Regions from separate parts of the Homo sapiens genome. Here all the other regions are linked to region 1. The links are contacts of gene promoters, found by promoter capture Hi-C in blood cells and fetal thymus (Javierre and others, 2016). All regions are on one chromosome and are shown on one strand. Each heading gives the region's core, a stretch centred on a gene start or on the middle of the fragment in contact. The rest is flanking DNA. Distances are from core to core; before and after follow the strand shown. Region 1 holds the start of MATN1-AS1 (MATN1 antisense RNA 1). Region 2 overlaps SERINC2 (serine incorporator 2). Region 3 overlaps PEF1 (penta-EF-hand domain containing 1). Region 4 overlaps ZCCHC17 (zinc finger CCHC-type containing 17). Region 5 has its middle 27 kb from the start of LINC01226.

What was found. The method cuts DNA at HindIII sites, captures the fragments that hold promoters and counts their contacts. A CHiCAGO score of 5 or more calls a contact.
Region 2: a contact is called between a fragment that was not itself captured here and the fragment with the promoter of MATN1-AS1 in region 1, in 5 of 17 cell types (non-activated CD4 T cells, naive CD4 T cells, naive B cells and 2 more). The highest score is 6.3, in non-activated CD4 T cells.
Region 3: a fragment that was not itself captured here is called in contact with the fragment with the promoter of MATN1-AS1 in region 1 in 2 of 17 cell types (neutrophils and non-activated CD4 T cells); the score reaches 6.9 in neutrophils.
Region 4: a contact is called between a fragment that was not itself captured here and the fragment with the promoter of MATN1-AS1 in region 1, in 1 of 17 cell types (total CD8 T cells). The highest score is 5.9, in total CD8 T cells.
Region 5: a fragment that was not itself captured here is called in contact with the fragment with the promoter of MATN1-AS1 in region 1 in 1 of 17 cell types (total B cells); the score reaches 5.8 in total B cells.

The regions. Positions count from the first base shown.
Region 1 is chr1:30,715,540-30,720,716 of GRCh38, reverse strand. MATN1-AS1 (MATN1 antisense RNA 1) reads right to left here and starts at 1,945. Exons shown (of 4, transcript NR_034182.1): 1 at 1,152-1,945. MATN1 (matrilin 1) reads left to right here. Exons shown (of 8, transcript NM_002379.3): 3 at 1,760-1,982; 4 at 3,802-3,927; 5 at 4,392-4,808. RefSeq lists silencers at 1,333-1,422, 1,983-2,502, 2,543-2,722 and enhancers at 1,080-1,655, 1,753-1,922. The HindIII fragment of the contact is 4,958 bases long and covers 221-5,177 here.
Region 2 is chr1:31,416,905-31,421,846 of GRCh38, reverse strand. All of the region lies in intron 1 of SERINC2 (serine incorporator 2), which reads right to left. Among named protein-coding and RNA genes, the nearest start is that of SERINC2, 6.2 kb to the right of the region's middle. The HindIII fragment of the contact is 1,435 bases long and covers 1,070-2,504 here.
Region 3 is chr1:31,636,374-31,641,256 of GRCh38, reverse strand. The region is part of intron 1 of PEF1 (penta-EF-hand domain containing 1); the gene reads left to right. Among named protein-coding and RNA genes, the nearest start is that of PEF1-AS1, 5.3 kb to the left of the region's middle. The HindIII fragment of the contact is 1,755 bases long and covers 437-2,191 here.
Region 4 is chr1:31,299,850-31,305,137 of GRCh38, reverse strand. The region is part of intron 1 of ZCCHC17 (zinc finger CCHC-type containing 17); the gene reads right to left. Among named protein-coding and RNA genes, the nearest start is that of ZCCHC17, 5.5 kb to the right of the region's middle. The HindIII fragment of the contact is 6,162 bases long and covers 1-4,774 here.
Region 5 is chr1:31,543,077-31,548,180 of GRCh38, reverse strand. No RefSeq gene overlaps it. Among named protein-coding and RNA genes, the nearest start is that of LINC01226, 27 kb to the right of the region's middle. The HindIII fragment of the contact is 5,837 bases long and covers 1-4,812 here.

The sequences.
Region 1 (5,177 bases), core at 696-3,195:
CTCTGTTCCTGTGGCACCCCCACAGGCTCCAGCACTTCCCCACTGCAGCCTTCGTTAGCCCGAGTCGCCACTTCCCTGCTCAGGGCCCCAGCTCAGGGGAGGTTCTTTCTTATCCCTCCTCCATACCCCACTCTCTAGCACACAGTGGATAAATGAACATGATTCTGCTCGGAGGTGGTATCCCCATTTTACAGATGGTGAAACTGAGGCATAAGAAGCTTAAGCAACTTGCTCAGCCAATAAGTGGGAAAAGCATTCACAGAGACAACAGCATATAATCCCAGCCATTACCACCCCTTAGAGAAATGACGTATCAGGCAGCCTGTCGGTCTTGGGGCCAACTACAAGTTTCAGCACGGGGTGCTGTAGATGAAGCTGATGGTTGAGGTGGTGGAGAGGGTGAAGGAGATGGGGGTGGTGGCGTGGGGTGGGCAAGTGAGGAGAGAGCTCCTCCAGCAGGTGACACAGCGGCGCTGGGGGAGCTGGCACCAGACTCCAGGTGTTCAGCCTGGAGTTCACCTGTGGGAGGACCCAGCAAGGTGGACAATCTGAAAGCTGGGTTGCAGGGAGGGGAGTAGGGACTCGAGGAGGCAGTGGGCCTCGGGATGGCAGCGAATAGTCACAGCTAGATTTTCAGAGCCAGGAGCCCAGGCCCCTGGAGAGGAAGAGATTGTACAAAGTCACTCCCCAGGTAGCCCAGGGTAATGATGGTAAAAATAATAGTTGCCCCTTCTGGCTTCTAACCAGGAGTCATCTCACTCAACCTCACCACAACCCTTTTTACAGTTGAAGACACTGAGGCTCAGGAAGGTGACCTGTAGCTTGTGGAGCTGCATTTCTAAACACGGCCTGTCTCAACTGCCTGTCATCAGGACAGGGTGTCAGGACCTGGGGCTAAGGATGGGACCCAGGAATCAGAAACAGACCCAAGTCAGAAGCAGAGAAGCAGCAAAGCGGGACTGGATGCCTAACCCAGACTGGGCAGAGCTGGGAGCGCCCTAGCCTCAGGGCGGGTGCAGACAGGGGGTCACGAAGCCGGATCTCAGTGACAGAGTCCGCCACCTCTTTCTTTCCAGGGTACAGACCAGAGGAGCCTAGTGGGAGGGGAGCAGGCAGATTCTTTCCCTCTCTGGCAGGGGCATGTATCATACCGGGGAGTGGAGGAGGATAAGGGCGGCATCTTTCTTGGGTTGGTCCCTTGGGCATCCACATGGGAGTGGCCCTCCGTCGGTTCCCTGGTCCAGGGTCCCCGGTCTTACCGGGACAAGGACAGCAAGACGGGAGACGGCAGCCCCATCCCTTAGCTTCGGCTGCCATCTGGTGGCCAAAGCGCAGAACTGCACCATGTGGAACCACCGGATCCCCCCACCCAGCCCCGGCCGGGCCTCCCGGGGGCACGAGGGGCGTGGCACGACTCCCACAGCCATCAGCCTGAGGACCCTGCCCTCAGCCGCCTCAGTCTGAGGGGAAGGCATGGCCCTGACCTTAGAGACCCCAATTTGGCGATGGGGCATCACATCCCTCCGGGCATCTCAGAGCTGCCTGCCCGAGGGAGGCGAAGCAGATGGAAAGCCCCCCAGCCACGTCTCTCAGTCAGAGGAAACGGGTCTCCTCTTCGGCCAGCCGGGTCCTCTTCCCCCGGGTGCCGCCTGGCTGTGCGACCCGGCAGTCCTCCCGCCTCTCCGGGCCTCAGCCTCCTCTCCTGGACAGTCCCGTGGGCTTCCGGGAGCCCGGTGTCACACCGCCCCGCGTGTCGCAGGTGGTCATCGTGGTGACAGACGGGAGGCCCCAGGACAGCGTGCAGGACGTGTCTGCGCGGGCCCGGGCCAGCGGCGTCGAGCTGTTCGCCATCGGAGTGGGCAGCGTGGACAAGGCCACGCTGCGGCAGATCGCCAGCGAGCCGCAGGACGAACACGTCGATTACGTGGAGAGCTACAGCGTCATCGAGAAGCTGTCCAGGAAGTTCCAGGAGGCCTTCTGCGGTGCGCGGGCAGGCGGGGGCGGAGCCAGGGCAGGGGCGGAGAAGGGGAGAGCGGCGGGGCGGGGCCAGGGCTGGAGGCGGGACCGAGGCTGAGGCGCAGACGGAGCCAGCGCCGGCGCAGGGCAGGGGCGGGGCCGGGGGGGGGGCAGAGGCGGAGACGGGAGAGAGATAGAATGTCAGTGCCGGGGCGGGGCCGGGGAGGAGCCGGGGGCGGAGGCGGAGACGGAGAGAGTCAGCGCCGGGGCGGGGCAAGGGTGGGGCCAGGGCAGGGGCGGAGACGGAGAGAGCGGCGGGGCGGGGCCAGAGCAGGCAGGGGGCGGGGCCAGGGCAGGGGCGAAGACGGAGACAGTCAGTGCCAGGGCGGGACCGGGGCGGAGGCGGAGAGAGTCGGCTCCAGGGGCAGGGCCAGGGCTGAGCGGGACGAGGCCGTGGCAGGCGCAGAGACTGAGAGTCCGCGCTGAGGCGGGCCAAGGCTAGGGGCGGAGCCAGCGCTAAAGTGAAGACAGAAAAAGTCAGCGTCGGGGGGCGGGGCCACATCAGAGGGCGGGGCCTGGCTGGGGCGGTAGCCTATAAAACGGCGGGAACTGAGTTACACGGCAACATCAGGGCGGGGCCAGGGCTAGGGACACGGCTTAGGTGGATTGGGGGTGGAACCTGGATTAGACTGAGGTGGTGCCAGCACCAGGGGTGGGGCCGTAGCTGGGGCGGAGCCTGATAACGGAGGAGGGTCTCCAGCCCCAGGTTAAGGGAGTTGGGGAGAGGCGATGTTAAGAGTCCTTTTATGGCCGGGCGCGGTGGCTCACGCCTGTAATCCCAGCACTTTGAGAGGCCGAGGCGGGCGGATCACGAAGTCAGGAGATCGAGACCATCCTGGCCAACATGGTGAAACCGGTCTCTACTAAAAATACAAAAAATTAGCCGGGCGTTGTTGCGGGCGCCTGTAGTCCCAGCTACTCGGGAGGCTGCGCCAGGAAAACGGCGTGAACCCGGGAAGCGGAGCTTGCAGTGAGCCGAGATCGTGCCACTGCACTCCAGCCTGGGCGACAGAGCGAGACGACTCCGTCTCAAAAAAAAAACAAAACAAAAAAAAAAACCGCACACACAAAAAACAACAGAGCCCTTTTATGTGGCAGAATCCTGGCAGGGACCAAGGAGGGCCCAGAGCTCAGGAAGGAGAGCTCCCAGAAAACCTACACATGTTTCTGTGTCGTGAGTTTTGGGTGCCAGAGTTTTCTGTGATGCGGGAGAGTCTGAGAGGCCTGGGCACTGGCAGGAGAAGGTTCAGAGCCCTTCTCGGAGGGGAGGTGTGTGTGTGGGTCTTTGGGATGTGACCCGCAGGGGCAGGGTGTCCAGTAGGACAGGATCAGGGTTAGGGCAGGGACTTTACCCATTTGTAAAATGGGTCTAAGAAGAGCATGCACGTTATTGAGAGGATCCAGTGAGATAATGCAAAATGTAACCCTCATTATATGGTATTTGACAGATAGGTGCTGTGTTCATTGTATGCTGTTCTAGACACTTGGGTGTCTTGATACAGCAGTGAACTAAACAGACTAAAGGCCCTAACCCTTGGCCTTTACCTTTTTAGTGAGACTTTTCATTCTTATCATCAGCATTATAACCTTCTTCAGGGATCTAGGCACTGGTGCAATGATTCCAGACGTGGGCTGAGAGTCGGGGGCCTGGGCCCCAGTATGTTGGAGATCTTAGTTTCCCTGAGTCTGGATGGGGCCTGGTATCCACAGTCAGGGAGGGACAACCTGTCTGTAGTGCCCAAGGCACTATGACTGTGAGATCTGAGCTACTTATTGTCCCCGCAGTGGTGTCAGACCTGTGCGCCACAGGGGACCATGACTGTGAGCAGGTGTGCATCAGCTCCCCCGGTTCCTACACCTGCGCCTGCCACGAGGGCTTCACTCTGAACAGCGACGGCAAGACCTGCAATGGTCAGTGGGGTGGACACAGGCTCGCCCTGGAGAGGGTGTGGAGGGGAGGTGATGGGGCCTCCCCAGGAAACCCATTCAAGCCTCCCTGCACCATACCTCTGAACCAATCTTCAAAGCAGACAGATGCCTTTTAGAGTTTGGTATCTGCAGAAGTTCTCACCTGACTTCTGTCCCTGTTTTCAACACAATGGGCGGTGGGTTTAGTGTGGTAGAAGGACTCACATAGTCTCAAAATCAAATCCTGGTGCTACCACTTCTGAGCTGTGTGATCTCACAGCTATTGGAGTTTCAGTTTCCAATACTGTACAGTGGGACCAGTCACCTTGGCTTTATAGAGGCAGTTCTGAGGGCACAATGTAATGATCCTCAGCACAGAGCTTGGTGTGTGGTGGGTGTCCAGCCGGGGAGCAGGATGGTTGACTATGTCCTTCAGCTTCAGCCCGTTGCCTTCCTGTCCTCCACAGTCTGCAGTGGTGGTGGTGGCAGCTCGGCCACTGACCTGGTCTTCCTCATTGACGGATCCAAGAGTGTGAGGCCAGAGAACTTTGAGCTGGTGAAGAAGTTCATCAGTCAGATCGTGGATACGCTGGACGTGTCAGACAAGCTGGCCCAGGTGGGGCTGGTGCAGTACTCAAGCTCTGTGCGCCAGGAGTTCCCCCTGGGTCGCTTCCACACCAAGAAGGACATCAAGGCGGCTGTGCGGAATATGTCCTACATGGAGAAGGGCACAATGACTGGGGCTGCTCTCAAGTACCTCATTGACAATTCCTTCACTGTGTCCAGTGGGGCTAGGCCCGGGGCCCAGAAGGTGGGCATTGTCTTCACTGATGGCCGGAGCCAGGACTACATTAATGATGCTGCCAAGAAGGCCAAAGACCTCGGTAGGTGTTGCCTGCCTGGACCCTGGACACCACTGATGGCCAGGGGTACACACGGGTATAGCCCAACTGTAGTTTATCTTGGTGTCGTCTGATTAGTGCCCTAAACCCAGGTGAGTTTGAATGAGGAGGATTGGTTAGTCCAATTCTCTCTTATACCAATGACAAAATTGAGGCCCCAGAAAAGTAAGTGGCTTGTTTTGATGGTCCTTTTGTAAGTGAGGCTTGGAACTTTTCCAGCTGGATATTCCCAAGAACACATCAACTATTGGAAGGCAACTCTACTTTGGAACAAGCCCGAGTCTGTTTTGTAACCTATTAAATGAGGAAAAAATAACCACCAGATGGATGATTATTAGGGTTAAATGAAGC
Region 2 (4,942 bases), core at 538-3,037, 700 kb before region 1:
AGACAGTCAGCGGTGAGTATGAGGTCAGACAGGCTGGCAAGGCCAGACCACATAGGCACCAGCAGTCAGGAACAGGACACTGGTTTTCATCCTAAGAGCGGTGGGCACCCACTCGAGGGGCTGGAGCCAAGGGTCAGGAATTGAAAGATGAGCTTTGAAAAGAGCAGGCTGGCAGGGGCCCCTTGCTCCTCAGAGACCTCTGCTTTTCTTTCTGGACTGGTCACAAGGCACACAGCACACCCTGCTGGCGGGCATCTGCCTCCCCTCTTACTCTCCCCCAAACTAGAAATGCTCCTCGCCTATCTCTCGTTCACACAGATGCTAAACAAAATGCTTTGGAAACGAAACTATTCCTCATGGTCTAAATTGAAACAGTCCACCTGTCCAGCAACTTCTGGTTACATCTTGCAGCTGCCACCCCAAGACCTGCCTCCTATCCATGGCTGTCCTTGGTGGGTGAGAGGATAAGAAAAGCCTGAAAAATGTTTTAGAGGCCATAAAGCAGTGGTCCCAAACCTTTCTGGTACCAGGAGCCAATTTCAGGGAAGACACTTTTTCCACAGATGGCAGCAGGGGTGCTGGCAGGGGGCAGATATGGTTTTGGGATGAAACTGTTCCACCTCTGATCATCAGGAATTAGATTCTCATAAGAAGCACGCAACTTGGATCCCTCGCATGCACAGTTCACAATAGGGTTCGCACTCCTATGAGAATCTAATGCTGCCACTGATCTGACAGGAGGCGGAGCTCAGGCGGTAATGCTTGTTCACCTGCTGTTCACGTCCTGCTGTGTGGCCCAGTTCTTAACAGGCCATGGATAGATACTAGTCCATGGCCCAGGGGTTGGGGACCCCTGCTATAAAGAACATTCTGGGTATCAGTTAGAGCAGCTTATTAGTCCCATTTTACAGACGTGGAAATTGAGACCAGAGGGACTAAGAGACTTACCAGAGGTCACACAGCAAGTTGATAACAGCACTGAGATTCAAGTAGTATTAGTGGCAGCTACCATTTACGAAGGGTTACTCAGTCCCAGGCACTGTGATAAGCACTTTATCTACATTAAGCTTCACTGATGCTATGAATTGTGTGGTAACTTTCCATTTTCAAATGGGAAAACTGAGACAGAGAAGTGGCATGACCAAGGTCACACAGCAAGTAAGCTGAGGAGCTGGGATGCAAATTCAGATCTGTGTGCACCAAGGGCCAGGCTCTGCCTACAGGACTACACTAGTTCCAGCTCGCTAATTCACTGATGGTCATCTTATTTAATTTAAATACATCCCAGTGATGAAAAAACAAACAAACAAACAACAAAAAACCCAATACCAGAAAACCAAGGGAGGCCAGTGGGTACTGATCTCAGGAGCCAGGTGCCCAGGTGCCCTGTCAGGTCCTGATGCTGGCTTGTTACCATTTAATTTCAATTTGAGACATCTGAGACACAAGAAAGCTGTTCCGCTTTCAGAGAGCTTGGCCTTTCAGTTCGCTCTGGTTCTTAAACATCAAAATCCAGGTGTTCCTAATGCCTGAAATCTCAGGATTTCCAAGGGCCTGATCAGCAGCCAGAGAGACCAGGTCAAAGAGAAAAACACACACTGCTTCCAGAGCATCCTTGGAAATGTTTGTCCACCTTGCTCCATTCACCCCACCCCAGAATGGCTCCTACAAGAACCTCTTCCATTTGACCAAAATGTCATTTTATATATATTTAAATCTCTTCCTACAGAAATGCCAGACCATTGGAGTAAGGGCAGATGTGTGCACATATATACAAACACATGGAAATTCATTGTGGCACTGATCATAATAGGAAAATAATAGGGGGAAAAATTTTTGAGACAGGATCTCGTTCTGTCACCCAAGCTAGAGTGCAGTGGTACCATCTCGGCTCACTGCAACCTCCACCTCCGGGGCTCAAGCAATCCTCCTACCTCAGCCTCCGGAGTAGCTGGGACCACAGGCACCAGCCACAATGCCCAGCTAATTTTTCTTTTTGGTTTCTTGGTTTTTGTTTCAAGAAAGGATTTGGCTCTGTCACCCAGGCTGGAGTGCAGTGGTGTGATCTCAGCTCACTGAAGCCTCAACCTCCTGGGCTCAAGCGATCCTCCTACCTCAGCCTCCCAAGTAGCTGGGACCACAGGCATGCACCACCACACCCAGCTAATTTTTGTATTTTTTGGTAGATACAGGGTTTTCTCATGTTGGCCAGGCTGGTCTTGAACTCCTGGGCTCAAGGGATCCTCCCACCTTGGCCTCCCAAAGTGCTGGGATTATAGGCATGAGCCACCATGCCTGGCCATTAGGGGAAAATTGAAAATAACAAAACGCCCATCAATACATCATGGTATTCCATAAAACGGATTTCTCTGCTGAATGGGGCAAATATGTAGGTAACACTTAACTTGGGTACATTTCATTGTATACAAATAATACTTCAATTAAGTTAAATTTACAAATATAAAAATAAAGATTTTTATATAAAGAAAAAACTTAAATAAGCTTTAGGTTTTGTGAGCCTATTGGAGTCTCAAGAAACTACAAAAAACCTAAATGTCTAACACCTGGGGACAGCCGTGGCCCTTTCACTCCATGGAATGCTACAGAGCCAGAAAGATGAATTCCCTGGCTACAGAGCCACATGGAATAATGCTCATGATGCAGTGTGAAAGGAAGGCAGACTGGAAAGCTGTTCCCACACTACGATTACAACCACTCCCCTCTTCCTGCAGATGCACTCAAGGGCAGCAACAGAAAAGCCCCAGAACACTTACAGTGGCTGAATCTTAGTACCAGCCCAGGTTCTCAGAATGGAGAACTCAGAATTTAAGAAGCCCCAGGCCTCAGAGCCTTACAGCTGCAAGGTTCCTTGGCATTCAACCAATCCATTCTCTTTCCAATGAAGAACCACCCAGAAAGCATCTGGCCATCCTCTGCTGCTTGCACACTGCCAATGACAAGGAGCTCACTACCTCCCAAGGCAAGGCAGACAGCTCTGGAGCCATGAGTCGTTTGGCATTATGTGAACAGGCTGTCACTGAGTCATTCACATTGTCTCCTGGTTGTCCTCAGAGCCAGGGACAGAAGTTCTTAGAACCACTCATAGGGTGTTGGGTGGGTAAGGGAGGCAGCTGAGGGCTGGATGAATTTTTCTATTTAAAACAAACTGGCTGTCTGGGCGTGGTGGTTCATGCCTGTAATCCCAGCACTTTGAGAAGCCAACACAGGCAGATTACCTGAGATCAGGAGTTTGAGACCATCCTGCCAACATGGTGAAACCCCGTCTCTACAAAAAATACAAAAATTAGCCAGGCATGGTGGCAGGCATTTGTAATTCCAGCTACTCAGGAGGTTGAGGCAGCAGACTCGCTTGAACCCGGGAGGCAGAAGTTGCAGTGAGCTGAATCGCGCCAATACACTCCAGCCTGGGTGACAGAGCATGAGTTCGTCTCAAAATTTAATAAAATAAAATAAAATAAAGTGGCCCTCCACTTCTGGATATATATCCAAAAGAAATGAAGCAGGGACTCACATATTTACACACCCATGTTCATAGCAGAATTATTCACAGTAGTCATAAGGTGAAAACAAGCTAAATGTCCATTGGTGGACGAGATGAATGGATAAACAAAATGTGGTATATCCATATCCATACAATAGAATATTATTTGTTCTTAAAAAGGAATGAGGCCAGGTGCGGAGGCTCATGCCTGTAACCCCTGCACTTTGGGAGGCCAAGGCGGGCGGATCACCTGAGGTCAGGGGTTCGAGACCAGCCTGGCCAACATGGTGAAACCCTATCTCTACTAAAAATACAAAAAAATTAGCTGGGCATGGTGGTGTGTGCCTATAGTCCCAGCTACGCGGGAGGCTGAGGCAAGAGAATTGCTTGAACCCGGGAGGTGGAAGTTGCAATGAGCCGAGATTGTGCCATTGCACTCCAGCCTGGGCAACAGAGCAGGACTCTGTCTCAAAAAAAAAAAAAAAAAAAAAAGAATGAAATTTTGACACATGCTATAACATGGATGAACCCTCAGGGCATTATGCTAAGTGAAATAAGCCAGACACCAAAGAACAAATATTGTATGACTCCACTTAGATGGAGAGAGTAGCCAAACTCATAGAGAAAAGCAGTGAATTGGTGGTTACGAGGGGCTGGGGAGTTACTGTTTAGTGGGAGTTTCAGTCTGGGAAGATGAAAAAGTTCTGGAGAAGGATGGTGGTGATGGTTGCATAACAGTGTCAATGTACTTAATGCTACACTTAAAAATTGTTAAAATGGTACATTTTATGTTATGCATCTTTTACCTCAATTTTTTTAAAAGGGAGGGGGCAGGGAGTTTTCAAAGAAGAGCAGGAAGAGGCGAGAAGGGTATTCCCAGCAAAGAGAATGACACATGCAGAGCTACAGGGACACTGTATTTTCAGGGCAGCTGAAAGGGTGAGAAAAGCTACAGAGGTCACGGAAGTGGTGGTCAATGTCCCTGTATGCCATGCCAGGGAGTCTGGACTTCACCCTGAAAGCAATGGGGAATGATTGCGAAAGAAGAGGAATGACAGCAGATTTGCATTTTAGAAATATCACTTTGATCACAAAAAGACAGGTCATGGGGTAGTGTGTGGTATCTTTGGGGGAAGGGAGGAGAGTCAGGGGCTGTTGTCAGTAATCCAGATGAGGGCTGACAGTAAGAAGATGTTCTGGAGTTACCGTGTGCCTTAGTTGGCACTACTCCTTCTGACAATGCCATTCGTTTGGGATTAATTTTTATTAGGGTTGTATTTATTAGATCTCCATTTTAATATACATGTCTTCTAAAATAAATTACAGGCTGGGTGTGGTGGCTCATGCCTGTAATCCCAGCACTTTGGGAGGCCGAGGCCAGTGGATAACTTGAGATCAGGAGTTCGAGACCAGCCTGGCCAACATGGTGAAACCCCGTCT
Region 3 (4,883 bases), core at 65-2,564, 920 kb before region 1:
TAGATTTGAGAAAACTTGGCCTTAGGTTTGGATGATTAAGCAGAACGGAGCTCCATTCACTGAGATGAGAACACAGGGAGGCATGGGTTTGGAGGGAAGGTCCAGTAGGCTGCTGGATATGTGGGTCTGTAGCTCAGGAGTGATGAAGCTGGAAAGATTTGAAAGTGTGAGCACAGAGGTAATTGAAGTCTGGGGATGGTTCTTGGCTCATTGTTTATTGGTTGCGTGCTTCTCTCCTATTTCAAGTGGCTCTGCTGGTGAATGCTTGAACTGTTCCTCTTGTCTTCCTGTGATTGTTTAACCCCTTAGTTTGGGCTTCCCACCTCCTCCTGTGCACTTGAAGGGTAGCTCTGGGGTACAAACTTGTCTTTGCAATGCTCCCTCCTCCATTCGTCATCAGGGCTCAGCTTGGAACAGCCGTTGATACCTTTAAGCTTCACAGGGGTCTTGAGGTTAGAAGACTTGAGTCCTCAGAACTGGAAAGAAAAAAAAAATACCGGACTTTCTGAGGTGGTTATTTGGGAGGAGGTAAGCTCCCTACTGCTTGCGCAAGTGCAGGTAGAGATTCCAGGTGGTTCTGCAGAGATTCCATTATTAACTGAGAGGTTGAACTGAAGAGTCTTTGGGGTGTCTTCCAAAATGTGGCTTGGCTCTCAAAGTGACTCTAGGTGCTGGGACGAAAAAGAATGAGATTTTTCTAAGAGTCCCTGATTTCTGGGCTTGAAGGCTCTGAGAGATCACCCAATCCAGCCTTCCCCTCTACCTCTGTCCACAGTAGAAATTCATTATATTTGACAAAGACATTTAGCACAGTCCCTCACACAGACACATGCTAGGCACTCACTCATTTATTGAGTGAACAAACAGAAGGGGGTAGTGTAGAGTCATGCAGACCCTGACTTGAATCCCAACTTGCCCATTCTAGCTGCATGATCTCAGGCATGTTATTAAACTCTCTGCCCCTTAATTTTCTCATCTGCAAAATGGAGATGACACTGTTTACCTCACAGGACTGAGGATTAGTGAGAGCTGGTTGAACTGGAAGCACCTAGCAGAGCCTCAGTAAATGTTTGTTGCCCCCAGTCCCCCCAGGGCATCAGATGTAGCTTATTTGCAATCAGCCAGAGCCCTAGAGATAGTTTTTCTGTGTTGCTTCAGAAGCTGCAGTTACTGAACTCTTCCTGTCCTTCCCCTCCACCTGCCTTCACAATCCTGTTTATCAGTATGAAATAACTCTTGGAAAAACTCTAAAAAGGGCTGGGAGCATGGAGTAGTGTAAAAGAACGTGGAGTCAGGGATGCTGTTTTTCATTTCTGGTTCAGACCTTTGCTAACAACTCAGTGACACTGGGTGACCCTCTGTGAGGTGGGGACCACCTCATCTTCTTCCCCAAACTTCCTGTGCAGCCTGCATTCTGTCTCAGTTGGCTCCACCTCCTTCATCTTGTGCAAAAGCTAGAAACCCGAGTCATTCTGAACACTTTCCTCACTCCTCCTCCATCTCTTTCCTAATCTAATTAGTCACCAAGTCATGTCTGGTCTATCTCTGAAATAGCTTCAGAATCCATTCCGTTCTCTTCATCCCCAAGTGTGCTGTCTGGTTCATGCCCTGCCTGCCCAGCACCTGGGCTACTGCCTCCCTCACTGGCTCATCCTCCACACCGCCGCTGGTTACTTCTCTAAACAAGGTTCTCATCACGTTCCTCTCCTATTGGAAACCCTTCTATAGTGCTCTGTTTTCTCCGGCATAAAGCCCCAACAAAACTCTTTAGAGTGGTGTTCATTTGTCCAAATATTTGTGGAGGCTTGCAGGTGCCAGGCACTGTGCTGGGCCCTGGGGTGCCATGATGAGTGAGGCGCAGTGTCTGCCCCTGGGGAGCTTACTGTTGGGTGGGGGAGATGCTAGACAGAAACTACTCTTAGACACTGATACCTCACGGCTAACTGAAATGCAGGGGGAGAGGTGCTTGGTCAACGAGTGTATAGAGGGCCTGCCTTTCTGGGTTCACACTGCATTCTTGGCTCTGCGGTTTAACTCATTCCCTGAATGCACTATGCTCACTCTTAAGTCTGTGCGTTTGTCTTTCTTCTCTCTTCTGTCTGGAGTGTCCTTCCCTGCCTGCCTTTTGGAAAATGTCTATGCATCCTTCAAGGACCATTTCCAATATCACTGCCACTTCCTCCAGGAAGCTTTCCTTGACCCACTTCATACATTGTTCATTTATTCATTCTGCAAACAGCACAAATTCCTCCATCTAAGCTTCCTTGATAGCACATAAGTAGATTTTTCTGATGGCACTGATCAGATTGTATCACAATTATCTGTGGGCCCCTTAAGGGCAGGACTTCATTTACTTGTGTCCTCAGATCTACTACAGAGCCTAGTACAATATTGTCACTCTGAAAATGCGTGCTGAATGAAGTCCTTTAACAGCTCCGTGGCTTAGTTTCTTCATCTGTAAAAGAGGGCAACTAACATCTTCCTTTTTTCTGTTAGGAGGCCATTGGCAAGATTCTGCCTGTAGTGTTTGTGTTTGTGAAAGTACTTTGTAAACTACAGAGGAGGTCTTCAAATGCAGGACAGAAAGGAAAGGGTTTAATTGCTGCCAGACTACAATAGCCAGAAGGGCAGGAGACCTGCCTGGCAGCACCTGCTTTGTTGGCCTGGGGATGTTTCCTAGGTGGTTTATAGGTGGTTTCCTAGGTGGGTTTTCCTAGGTGCCAGGTGCGGTTTATAGCTTTGCTCACAGGGCTTATAGTGGGGCAGCTACTTCTGGCTTCGTGTCTGGCCTGTTCTTTGGGTGTGCCCAGATTCTGCAGAGTTCCCACTCCCTTTCCATCCTATGCTGGAATCCTGAGCCCTATTGCTTAATGAAGGAGTGTTGTAGCAGGAGGCAGGGGGAGTCATTGGGTGCAAGGGAGTGGTCCAGCCTTGTCTCTTCCTCCAGCTCACAGCATTACTTGGGCAAGTCCCTCCCTCCCTCCCCCATCTGTAAAATGGGGGTTAGGTTAAGTGACTTGTCTTCTGGGTATTTCTCTTGTCACACCTCTCCAACCCCTTGGGAATCCTGTTCGTTCTCTAAGTCCTAGCTCAAATGCCACTCTCATGGAAACACTCCCTGATTTTACCCTCCTTCCTTTGCAGTCCTATGGCACATGACTTATGTCTCCATTTCAAACACCTGTTTTCCTTATGCTGTTTTGTTAGACGTTACACAGTGTCTACATGTTAAGTCTTGTTAACTGTGAGTGCCTTCAGATTGCTTCACTCTCCTTTATACCCCACCCCGCACAGTTCACCTGGCCCAGGACTTTGCTGATAACAGTAATTAATATAGCAATAGCAGCTATGACTTACTGATCATTTGCTTTATGCCAGGCACTGTTGTAAAAACTATTTTTCTTATGTGAGTGGTTTTCAGACTGTCTTTTCAGTCACTGTGAGGGGTTTTCAGAGCCCCCTCAGAATGTAGCAAGGGAGGGGGTTCCATATTGTAGGGGCTCTGGAGCTCCCACCTTACTTCAGCCAGAGCAACTTTCTTGTATTTGTTTTATTTATTTTATCAAAGGATTCTTTCTTTCTCTCTCTCTTTTTTTTTTTTTTTTTTTTTTTTGGAGACAGGGTCTCCCTCTGTTACTCAGGCTGGAGTGTTGTGGCACAATCACAGCTCACTGCAGCCTCCAACTTAGGCTCAAGTGATCCTTCCGCTTTAGCCTCCCGAGTAGCAGGGACTACATGTGTACCACCATGCCCGGCTGATTTTTAAAAATTTTTTGTAGAGGTGGGATCTTACTATGTTGCCCAGGTTGGTTATCAAAGGATTCTTTAGCTAAAAATTAAACTGACAGAATTTTGCTGCATTTATTTTTTATAATCTGCAGAACAGTCCAGTGAGGAAGGAATTGTTCTATTTGTGAGGAAGCAGGCTCAGAGAGATGAAGCCACGGGCCCACAGTCATGAACTTAGCTGATGGGAGCAGAGTTTTAAATTGAGATCTGTGTGAGCCATTCTTGTCTGTGAAGGAGTCTTGCTAGTAGCTATGACAGCTTCTAGGGTAGAAAAGCTCCCAAGGATTGCTGAGTGGGTGACAGGGCCTGCTTCCTGCCCTCCCCACAAAAAAACCTCATGAATTTGGCCTTAGCCTTAAGAGTAATTATTTCAAGCTATCAAACACAATAAAAAGAGAAAGCCCAGGCTCTCAGTGGCTTGGCCACTGGTGCACTTACAGGTTGATCTAGAACGTATCTAGATGGTGCCGTTCTCGGAGCTGGGCCTAGCTGCTGTCTGTGCCCTTGAGCTCAGCTTGTCTGCAGATGTGTTGGGGCTGTGCTCTGCTGGGTCCTGTGCTAGCCATTTAGGGAGATGGAGCGGAACACTCCGAGGGCTACTGGTGTGGGAAGATGGATGAGAGAGGGAATGCCCCCATGTATGCTCTAATGCACAAATGCCCTGGACATAGAGCCAAGAGACCCAGGTTCTGGTCCCAGCCCCTCCACACAGCCTGTGTGTGACTTTCCTGGACTTGAGTCTTGTCCTCTGTAGGAGGCTATTATTAATAGTGTTTATTGAGTGCTTAATTTGTGTCAGGCCCAATGTCAAAGGGCTTCACATAGCTGGCCTCATTTCATTCACAAACTAACCTGAGAGGTAGCTATTATTATTCCCATTTTATAGCAGAAGATGTTGAGGCTTAGAGAGGATAAGTCAGTCCAGTTAGTAAATGGCAGAACCTGAACTTGAACTCTTGAACTGGTTGTTTTTTGTTTGTTTGTTTGTTTTGAGATCGGATCTTACTCTGTCACCCAGGCTGGAGTACAGTTGTGTGATCATGGCTCACTGTAGCCTCGACCTCCCCAGGCTCAGGTGATCCTCCCACCTTAGC
Region 4 (5,288 bases), core at 444-2,943, 580 kb before region 1:
TCCCACTCAGAGCAGTTGGGTAGAAGCCTCTCCTCAGTAATTAGGCAAAGGTCAATTATTACTGATTCACAGTTAATCTCCCAACCTTATGGTGGGCCACAGTGAAAGGGGGAGTGAGTGAGAATTACTGCAAGGGTGCCTACTGTAACAACGTATTCTGCTTTGATCCAGTTTACATATTAAAATTCTGTGTAAGATTTCACTTGGAAAAAAAAAGAGTTCTGCTACTTTTAAAGAGTATACAGCCGTGCGTGGTGGCTCACGCCTGTAATCCCAGCACTTTGGGAGGCTGAGGCAGGTGGATCACGAGGTCAGGAGATCAAGACCATCCTGGCTAACACAGTGAAACTCCATCTCTACTAAAAATACAAATAATTAGCCAGGCGTGGCAGCGGGCACCTGTAATCCCAGCTACTCGGCAGGCTGAGGCAGGAGAATGGCATGAACCTGGGAGGTGGAGCTTGCAGTGAACCAAGATCGTACCATTGTACTCCAGCCTGGGCGACAGAGCGAGAGTCCGTCTAAAAAAAAAAAATAAGAGTATATAACATTGAGCCAGGCACGGTGGCTCACACCTGTTAATACCAGCACTTTGGGAGGCCATGGCGGGTGGATCACTAGAGCCCAGGAGTTCGAGAATAGCCTGGGCAACACGATGAAACCCCATCTCTACTAAAAATACAAAAATTAGCTGGGCATTGTGGTGGGCACCTGTAATCCCAGCTACTCGGGAGACTGAGACAGGAGAACCACTTGAACATGGGAGGTGGAGGTTGCAGCGAGCCGAGATCATGCCACTGCACTCCACCCTGGGCAACTCCACCCTGGGCAACAGAGACTCTGTCTCAGAAAGAAAAAAAAAAAAGAGTATATAACATTAAGATAGATACAGTCAGTCAGACAGGACCACATTCATACACTTAAAAGAGCCAGTAAGTCGACAAGGATTGAGGTACACCATTTGGAGTTGCCTTGCAATAGCTCTGAATGCAGAACAAAGCATTTTGCTTGCATGTTTTAAACAACTGTGTTACATAGGGAAGCAACAGGGGACCAATTACTAGCCACTCTCTTTCCAAAACAAGGGACAGAGAAAGGAAAGTATGGGATGGAAGTAAAGGATACAGGAGAAGAAATGGTGGCCCAGAGTGAGGTCAGAGTCTAAGCTGGGTGAGGAGGAAATCTACAAAGAGAACTGCAATATAGGGAAGAATAAGGTGATGAAGGCACACACTGGAGCAGCCCAGAATGGGTAGTCAGAGCTCGAGCATCAAGAGGTGGGGCCTGAGGATCAAAGAAGTAATGCAATGTTAATTTCATAATGTTGGTAATTACACTGTGGCTATAGAGGAGAATGTCCTTGTTTGTAGGAAAAAAAGTTTTCAGGGCTGTTGGGGTATTGGGTCAGCAATTTAACTCAAATAATTCAGAAAAATGTTATCTGTACATGCTTCCATAATTATGTGATAGTTTCAAAAAAAAATTTTAAAGTACACATGCAACTGGGAAAAAAACCCTACACATCCTGTCCTCCTATCCCCCAAGCAATGAAAAGTTTAAAGAACAATATTAAATTGGCCAGACATTTTATAGCCTTTTTGGAACTTCATTTAATGTGTCACCTTACTGACCTGGTCAAGATTTTTGTTGTTATCATTTTCCAGCTTGTTTGGATTTAGATTTTTTTGTTACTTGAGTACTAATTGACTAGAACCCTAAGAATTTAAAGGAATTTTAGTTTATCTTTAAGCTGTGCTGGAATTGTGAGCAAAGTAAGCTAACTAAAACTACTAGGATATGAACAGAGACAGAATAATGACTCCAGAGCCTGCACTGTTTGCTTTGTTTTTTGTTTTGAGGCAGGGTCTCACTCTGTTGTCCAGGCCGGAGTGCAATGGTCCAAACATGGCTCCCTGCAGCCTTGACCTCCTGGGCTCAAGCTATCCTCCCGCCTCAGCCTCCCAAGTAGCTGGGACAGAAACACACCAACGAGCTTGGCTAATTTTTTTTTTTTTTGAGGGGGGGTAGAGACTGGATTTCATTATGTTGCCCAGTCTGGTCTTGAACTCCTGGCTCAAGCAATCCTCCTACCTCAGCCTCCCAAAGTGCTGAGATTACAGGCATGAGCCATGGCACCCGGCCAAGAGCCTGCATTCTTAAGCACTATACCTCAAAAAGAATTCACAATCGAATATGGTTTGGCTTTGTGTCCTCACCCAAATTTCATCTTGAACTGTAATCCCCACATGTTGGGGGAGGGACCTAGTGGGAGGTGACTGGATCATGGCAGTTTCCCACAGTCTGTTCTCATGATAGTGACAGAGTTTTCACGAGATCTGATGGTTTAAATGTGGCAGTTTCTCTTGCTCTCTCTCTCTCTCCTCTGACACCACTTAAGACGTGCCTTGCTTCCCCTTCACCTTCTGCCATGAGTTATAAGTTTCCTGAGGACTCCCCAGCAATTCAGAACTGTGAGTCAATTAAACCTTTCTCCTTTATAATTACCCAGTCTCAGGGAGTTCTTTAGAGCAGTGTGAAAATGGGCTAATACACGGTCTAAATCTAAATTTTGTAGAATATAGCTCTAACACTAACTAGGTCCCAACATTAGAGGAATCAATGTGGATATCATTCATGGAAGAGCTAGGATGAGCAACGTCTGGATCCATTCATTCAAACATGAAACCAAGGACCATTTCTCATTTGATTTTGTGTTCCTGGGGTCTGGTATACTACAAGTACTCAGTTTTTTTTAAATGAGTGAACTGAGCCTCACTATATGCCAAGCACAGGTAGAGAAAGAGGGGGGAACACATTCTGGTCTAAAGGATATAGAAGAAGAAGGAGCTAGGTCCCATTTAATATGTTGGACAGATCAACAGATGGAACACTTCTTTTTTCTTTTTTTTTAAGATGGAGTCTCGCTCTGTTGCCCAGGCTGGAGGGCAGTGGTGCGATCTCGACTCACTGCAACCTCCACTTCCCGGGTTCAAGTGATTCTGTCACCTCTGCCTCCCAAGTAGCTGGGACTACAGGCATGCAACACCATGCCCAGCTAATTTGTGTACTTTTAGTAGAGACATGGTTTCACCATGTTGGCCAGGTTGGTCTCAAACTCCTGACCTCAAGTGATCTGCTCGCCTCGGCCTCCCAAAGTGTTAGGATTACAGGTGTGAACCACCGCACCCGGCCGGGACACTTTCAAATGTCAAACTGGTGGTCCAACTTTCCTCCCTCCCACCAAATTCTAGAGTGACCATGTAAGATAGATGCTTCTTGCTTTCAAATTCCAGTCGTGGACCTGTTGAGAAAATAGCCAAAAGCAGGAAAGAGGAATAGTAAAATGCCAGGAAAAACACAAAAGATGAACTCAGAAAATGTAAAAACTTAAAGGAATTATGGAAATAATTAAACCTATTACTCTTAGGCCACTGAAAATGAAGCCAAGTGATTTGACAAAGGCTGCTCACAGTTAGCAACATTGGTATAAGACCCCAGGATCAGCACTTATTCTACCACTCGACACTACACTTTCAGTCAATTATTCCTAAGATCCCTTCAAAGTCTTATAATAGCTAATATTTGAGTGCTTCATATCTGCCATGTATTAATCTAAGAGCTTTACTTCTCTTAACTAATTTTTCTTTTTAAAATTTTATCTTCATGACATTCAATAATTCTCTTCTTGACTATCCCATAAAACAGGCAATTATCATTGCCATTTTAAAAATGAGGACACAAGAGAAGCTAAGTAAACTCGCTCAAGATTGCAAAATATGAATGATGGGGATGGGATTCAAATCATTTTTAGGGACATTTTTTTCCTCCCTTTGTAGAGTGTGGAACTCTTGTAAGCATGCCTTTGTCTTGCACATCATCATATCCTTCCTCCCCAAATCTCCAGTGCCTAGCACAGTGTAACACACATGGAAATTGTCTACTAAAATAGTGAAGTATTTAATTTTACCCCATTTAAATTGTTAATTCATCAATTCAGTATGCTATTGATTGATGTTTATATATAAGGTACTTTATAAACCTGCTTTCAATCCCTAAAACTCCTCTACAAAGCAAGTAATCCTATTTTACAGGAATGAAATAACTTGTCCAAAACAACACAGCAAGAAAGAGACAAATCTTAGGCCATTCCAAGGGCCACACACACTTGCCACTAAACCACCCTTTTTTTTCTTTTTTTTTTTTTGAGACAGAGTTTTGTTCTTGTCACCCAGGCTAGAGTGCAATGGCGCGATCTTAGCTCACTGCAACCTCCTCCCAGGTTCAAGCGATTCTCCTGCCTCAGCCTCCCGAGTAGCTGGGATTACAGGCACACACCACCATGCCCAGCTGATTTTTATATTTTTAGTAGAGACAGGGTTTCACCATATTGGTCAGGATGGTCTCGAACTCCTGACCTCAGGTGATCCACCTGCCTCGGCCTCCCAAAGTGCTGGGATTATAGGAGTGAGCCACAGCACCCGGCCTAAACCACCCTTTTCAACACAGTCCCTGTTCTCAAAGACCTCCTAATCTGATAGGGATATCAGATATCATCATTCCAACAACACTCTAAACTCCCTTTAACTCTGTCTTTATATTTAACTATCTGGCAGTATGTCTAACCTAGCCCGGGACAGTTGCAGACAACAGAACCCACTTAAGCAGAAAGGGATGTATTGCAATAACAGACTTTGGCGGAACTTCCAGGAACAACACCTAACCCACAAAATAACACCAATTACACTGCAATGTGATAAGTGCTAAAGCAGAAGCTTGGGGGCCAGGCATGGTGGCTTATGCCTATAATCGTAGCACTTTGGGAGACCAAGGCAGCAAGATCACTTGAGGCCAGGAGTTTGAGACCAGCCTGGACAACATGGCAAGACCTTATCTCTATAAAAAATACAACAATTAGCCAGGCATGGTGGCACATACCTGTTATCCCACCTACTGGAGAGGCTGAGGTGGGAGGATCACTGGAGCCTGGGAGGTCGAGGCTACAGTGAGCCATAATCATGCCACTGCAATCGGCCTGGGCAACAGAGTAAGACTGTCTCAAAACAAACAAACAAAAGTAGTAGCTAGGAAGAGAAAGAGGGTCTGGGGGAAGTAGAGAAGTTAAACAGATAACTGAATAAGCCTTTTAGGATAAACAGAAATCCTCTAGCAGAGAATACTGTTCTTTGACCTCATTAGAACCCTGATTTATTGGCCTCTATTTTCTTCCAATCTATCAGCCCTCCCCTTTTTCTTCAGTTTTCTTCCAATCCAGCTTAGATTCCATAGCC
Region 5 (5,104 bases), core at 645-3,144, 830 kb before region 1:
GTGGCACAATCTCAGCTCACTGCAACCCCTGCCTCCAGGGTTCAAGCGATTCTGTTACCTCAGCCTCCCAAGTAGCTGGTACTACAGGTGCCCTCCACCACACCCAGCTAATTTTTTTTTATTTTTATTTTTAGTAGAGGCGAGTTTTCACCATGCTGGCCAGGATGGTCTCGAACTCCTGTCCTCAAATGATCCACCCACCTCAGCCTCCCAAAGTGCTGAGATTACAGGCGTGAGCCACCACCCCCGGCCTCTCTTCTGCATCTTAATTACTTTCCCCTCTATGGATCATGCCCGTCAGCCTAAAAACAAGCTGTGATCTCTCTCATTCAGAATAAACTCTCCCTTGACCCTACGTTCCCTCCCTCTAGCTGCACTCCCATATGTCTGCCCTCGTTTACAGTGCAACTCTCCGGGAGAGGGGCCCATGCTCCACCCATCCCCACCGGGCCCCACTGCAGTCCACCTGCCCTTGCCACTGAAACCCTCAGGATCACCAGTGACCTCGGTTCTTCCCAATTCCATTCTCAGCCCTCAGCCCACGTCTCAGCAGCATTTGAGAGTTGAGTGTTCCGTCCTTGCAACATTACCTCTCTTGGTTTCTGTGACTTTGTCTCTTCTCTATCCGTGGTCACTTCCCAGCTGTCTCACTGACCCAGAGAATATAAAGTCCACCCAATGCCAATCATTCCCACGTGTGTATCTCTCATCCTGACCTCTCCCTGGAAACCAGATTCTTCTATCTGGCCCTCGCTGGAGGTCTAACAGGCTGCTCAAACTTAACTTGAACTCTTGATTTTAATCCCACCTAACCTGCTTCTCCCTCAGTGTCCCTGTCTGTCTAATGGCAGTTCCGGCCCCAAATCCTGAAGTTGCCCTTGACTCCTCTCTGCCTTACACCCCACATCTGATTCTGCAGCAAATTCTCTGGGTCCAACCTTTAAAATCTGTGCTGGACCTGACTGCTCTCACCATCTGCACCACAAACAGCCTACTCCATGCCCCCTTATTTTTGCCAGGAGTGACATAAGTGGCATAGCCTCCTCCTTGGTCCTGCCACATTCTCTCTGTCTCTCTTGCATGCACCGCATTCACCTGCTTAGAATAAAGTTCAAGTCCCGACACAACAAGGCTTGACAGGAGCAGTGGGGACCCTTCTCCTGCCTCATCTCCTTACACTTCCCTCTGACTCACTCTGCTCACCCACTCAGGACTCCTTGACGCCCCCCCTTTTTTTGGTACAGTCTCCATTCCAGCCTTGGAACTTGCTGTTTCAATGCCTGTAGCTGCGACCCAGCCAACCGCACAGCCCCTCCCTCTTCCCTTCAAGTCTCTTCTCCTCAGAGAAGCCTCCCTGACCCCTCTACCTAAAGTAGCCCCGCCCTCTACCATTCACTATCCCTTCATCCTGTTTAATTTCTCTTCACAGCACCAATGCTTCCACTTCATCGTTTCTTTATATGTTTTTTTATGCCGTCTTCTCCCAACTGGAAGGTAAATTGCACACGTGTGGGTTCTCACCCATCTTGTTCACCATGTGTTACCTGTGTCTGGAGCAGTGCCAGGAAGACTAGGACCTCACACTTTTATTGAGTAGATGGATGGATGGATGAATAGATGCATGCATGGATGGACGGATGGATGGATGGATGGATGGATGATGGATGGATTCATGGATGGATGGGTGGATGCATGGAGGGATGGATGGATGAATGCATGGATGGATGGATAGATGCATGGTTGGATAAATGGATACATGGATGGATGGATGGATGGATGGATGGATGCATGGATGGATGAACAAATGGATGGATGGATGGTTGCACAGATGGATAAATGGATACATGGATGGATGGATGGTTGCACAGATGGATAAATGGATACATGGATGGATGGATGCATTCACGGATGGATGGATGAATGCATGCATGTATGGATGGATGGATGGATGCATGCATGCATGCATAGATGGATGGATGGATGGATGCATGCATGCATAGATGAATGGATGGATGCATGGATACGTGGATGGATGGAAGGATGAATGGATGGATGGATGCATGCGTGCATAGATGGATGGATGGATGGATGGATGGATGCATGGATACATGGATGAATGAATGGATGCATGGATGGACGGATAGATGGATGGATGGATGCATGCATGGATGGATTGATGGATGCATGGATGTATGTATGCATGGATGGATGCATGGATGAATGGATGGATGGAGGGATGCATGGATGGATAAATGGAAGCATGGATGCATGGATGAATAAGTGGATGCATGGATGGATAAATGAATGGATAGATGGGTGGATGCATGGATGGATGGATGGATGAACAGATGAATGGATGGATGGATGGATGCATGCATGCATTCATGCAAAGACGAATGGATGATGCATGGATCCACGGATGGATGAATGGATGTATGTATGAATGGATAAATGGATACATGGATGGATGGACGGATGGATGGATGGATGGATGGATGGATGCATGGATGCATGGATGCATGGATGGATGGATGGGTGGATGGATGCATGGGTGGATGGATGGATGCATGGATGGATAAATGGATGTGTGCATGGATGGGTGGATGGATGCATGGGTGGATGGATGGATGCATGGATGGATAAATGGATGCATGCGTGGATGGATGGATGGGTGGATGGATGCATGGGTGGATGGATGGATGCATGAATGGATAAATGGATGCATGGATTGATGTATGGATCAATGGATGGATGGATGCATGGATGGATGGATGGATGGATGCATGCATGCATGCATAGATGAATGGATGGATGGATAAATGGATGCATAGATGGATGGATTAATGGATGCATGGATGGATGGGTGGATGCATGCATGGATGGATGGATGGATGGATGGATATCCACAATCTCATAAGACAGTACCCATAGGGCAAACAAAACACACCAGAATCTCTTGCATCTGAATAAAATGTTATGTTTTCCCTAAAGTTCACTCATATCTGTACTTCCAAACACTTCTGAGGGGTAAGGGTGGATGTTTTTACTTCTAATTTGCAGGCTTTGGGAGGGTACCAGATGAGTAACACATTGAAGCCTGAAGGCCCCTCTGGCTTCTATGGGTAGCATCTGCAGTTCACCCCTGCTCCTAAGATGTCTGAGGGAGAATTCTCTTCAGCCCAAGGGTGCTGAATGATTCCTTCTGGCCTTGGCTGAGCTGAGGAGGTAGCAGCAAAATTGGTGGGGCTGACTCTGGCAGATGGGGAGGATTGTTTGCAGAGGCTGTCATTCAGATAACTCCCTCAGCAGGTGAAGTTTATAAAGGGGACAGGATGGAGGTGGTCTTAGCCTCTAGGGCCCACTGCCCTCCCTGCACTGCAGGGATGTGGCTGGTCATCCTAATGTGCACCTACCCCCATCTCTGACAATGTCCATCCTTGTAGGGCACATTCTCTTTCTGAGCTCAGAACTCCCCAAATAGTAGTTTTGAAGTTTTAAAGTGCCTGGGAGACATGCTGTAGCATCTGCTCTATTTTAGAATTGGCTGGATCCACACCTCATTCATCACACCTTCCAACCTGGGGGCTTCTCAAGGCCAAGGTGAGTTCTGAGGCACACCCTGCACCTGGCCCATTGGCTATGGTCAGATGCTGTGTGTGCTCTCTGAGGACAGCCAGACCATGAGGCAGGGGCGGCCTCTGAGGGTCAGGCCAGGATCAGGGCCTGCCAGAGGCAGGGCCCTGGACACGGACTGATGTTCAGCAAGGATTTGCATTATCTGCATTAACCCTCTCAACAACCCTGCAAGGGGGATACTCATATCATCCTCACTTCATGGGGGGGAAACTGAGGCTCTGACCACACTGCTAGTATGTGGCAGAGCCTGGATTTGTTCCAAAAGCCAGAGCTCTCACCACTAGAGAAGGCACCTATAGTTCATCCAAACCCTTTTCTAGAACAACGCAGGGGCCACTAACTGAATGAAATGAGGACATGTAGGTGCCCATGGAGGGGAAGACCAGACAACCGCCTATGTTCAGCTTGGGCAGCTGTACTTCCTTCAAGAAGAGCCTGTCAAAGGTGTTTCACATGTGGCCATAGAGGGTGCAAGGGAAGAGGGGTGGCACAGAGAAGATCTCCTGCAGAACCCCACTGCCTGGGCACAAGTGGGGAAACAGCAGCGAGATCACAATACTTCAAACATTTTTATTATTGGTCAGGCGCGGTGGCTCATGCCTGTAATTCCAACACTTTGGGAGGCCGAGGCAGGTGGATCACTTGAGGTCAGGAGTTCGAGGCCATTTCTCTATTAAAAATACAAAAATTAGCCGAGTGTGGTGGTGGGTGCCTGTAATCCCAGCTACTCAGGAGGCTGAGGCACAAGAATCTCTTGAACCCAGGAGGCAGAGGTTGCAGTCAGCCGAGATCACACCACTGCACTCCAGCCTGGGCGAGAGAGCTAGAATCCATTTCAGAAAAAAAAAACACCTTTTTTTTTCATTGTTATTATGTCTGTGTTGGTGTTGGTGATCTATAATCAGTGATCTTGGATGTTACTATTGTAAAAGTTTGGGGGTGCCATAAACCACACCCATACAAGATGGCAAACTTAATAAATACTGTGTGTGTTCTGACTGCTCCACTGACCAGCTATTCCCCCATCACTCTCATCCTGAGGCCTCCCTGTTCCCAAAGATACAACAATATTGAAATTAGGTCAATTAATAACCCTACAATGGCCTCTATGTGTTCAAATGAAAGGAGGAATTGCATGCCTCTCATTTTAAATTAAAAGCTAGAATTGATTAAGCTTAGCGAGGAAGACCTATCAAAAGCCAAGAGAGACCGAAAGCTGGGTCCCTTGCACCAGTTAGCCAAGTTGAGAATGCAAAGGAAAAGTTCTTGAAGGAAATTGAAAGTGCTACTCCGGTGAACACATAAGTGGCAAGAAGGCAAAACAGCCTTATTGCTGATATGGAGAAAGTTTGAGTGGTCTGGATAGAAGGTCAAATTAACCACAGCATTCCCTTGAGCCAAAGCTTAATCCAGAGCAACGCCCTAACTCTTGTCAATTCTATGAAGGCTGAGAGAGGTGAGGAAGCTT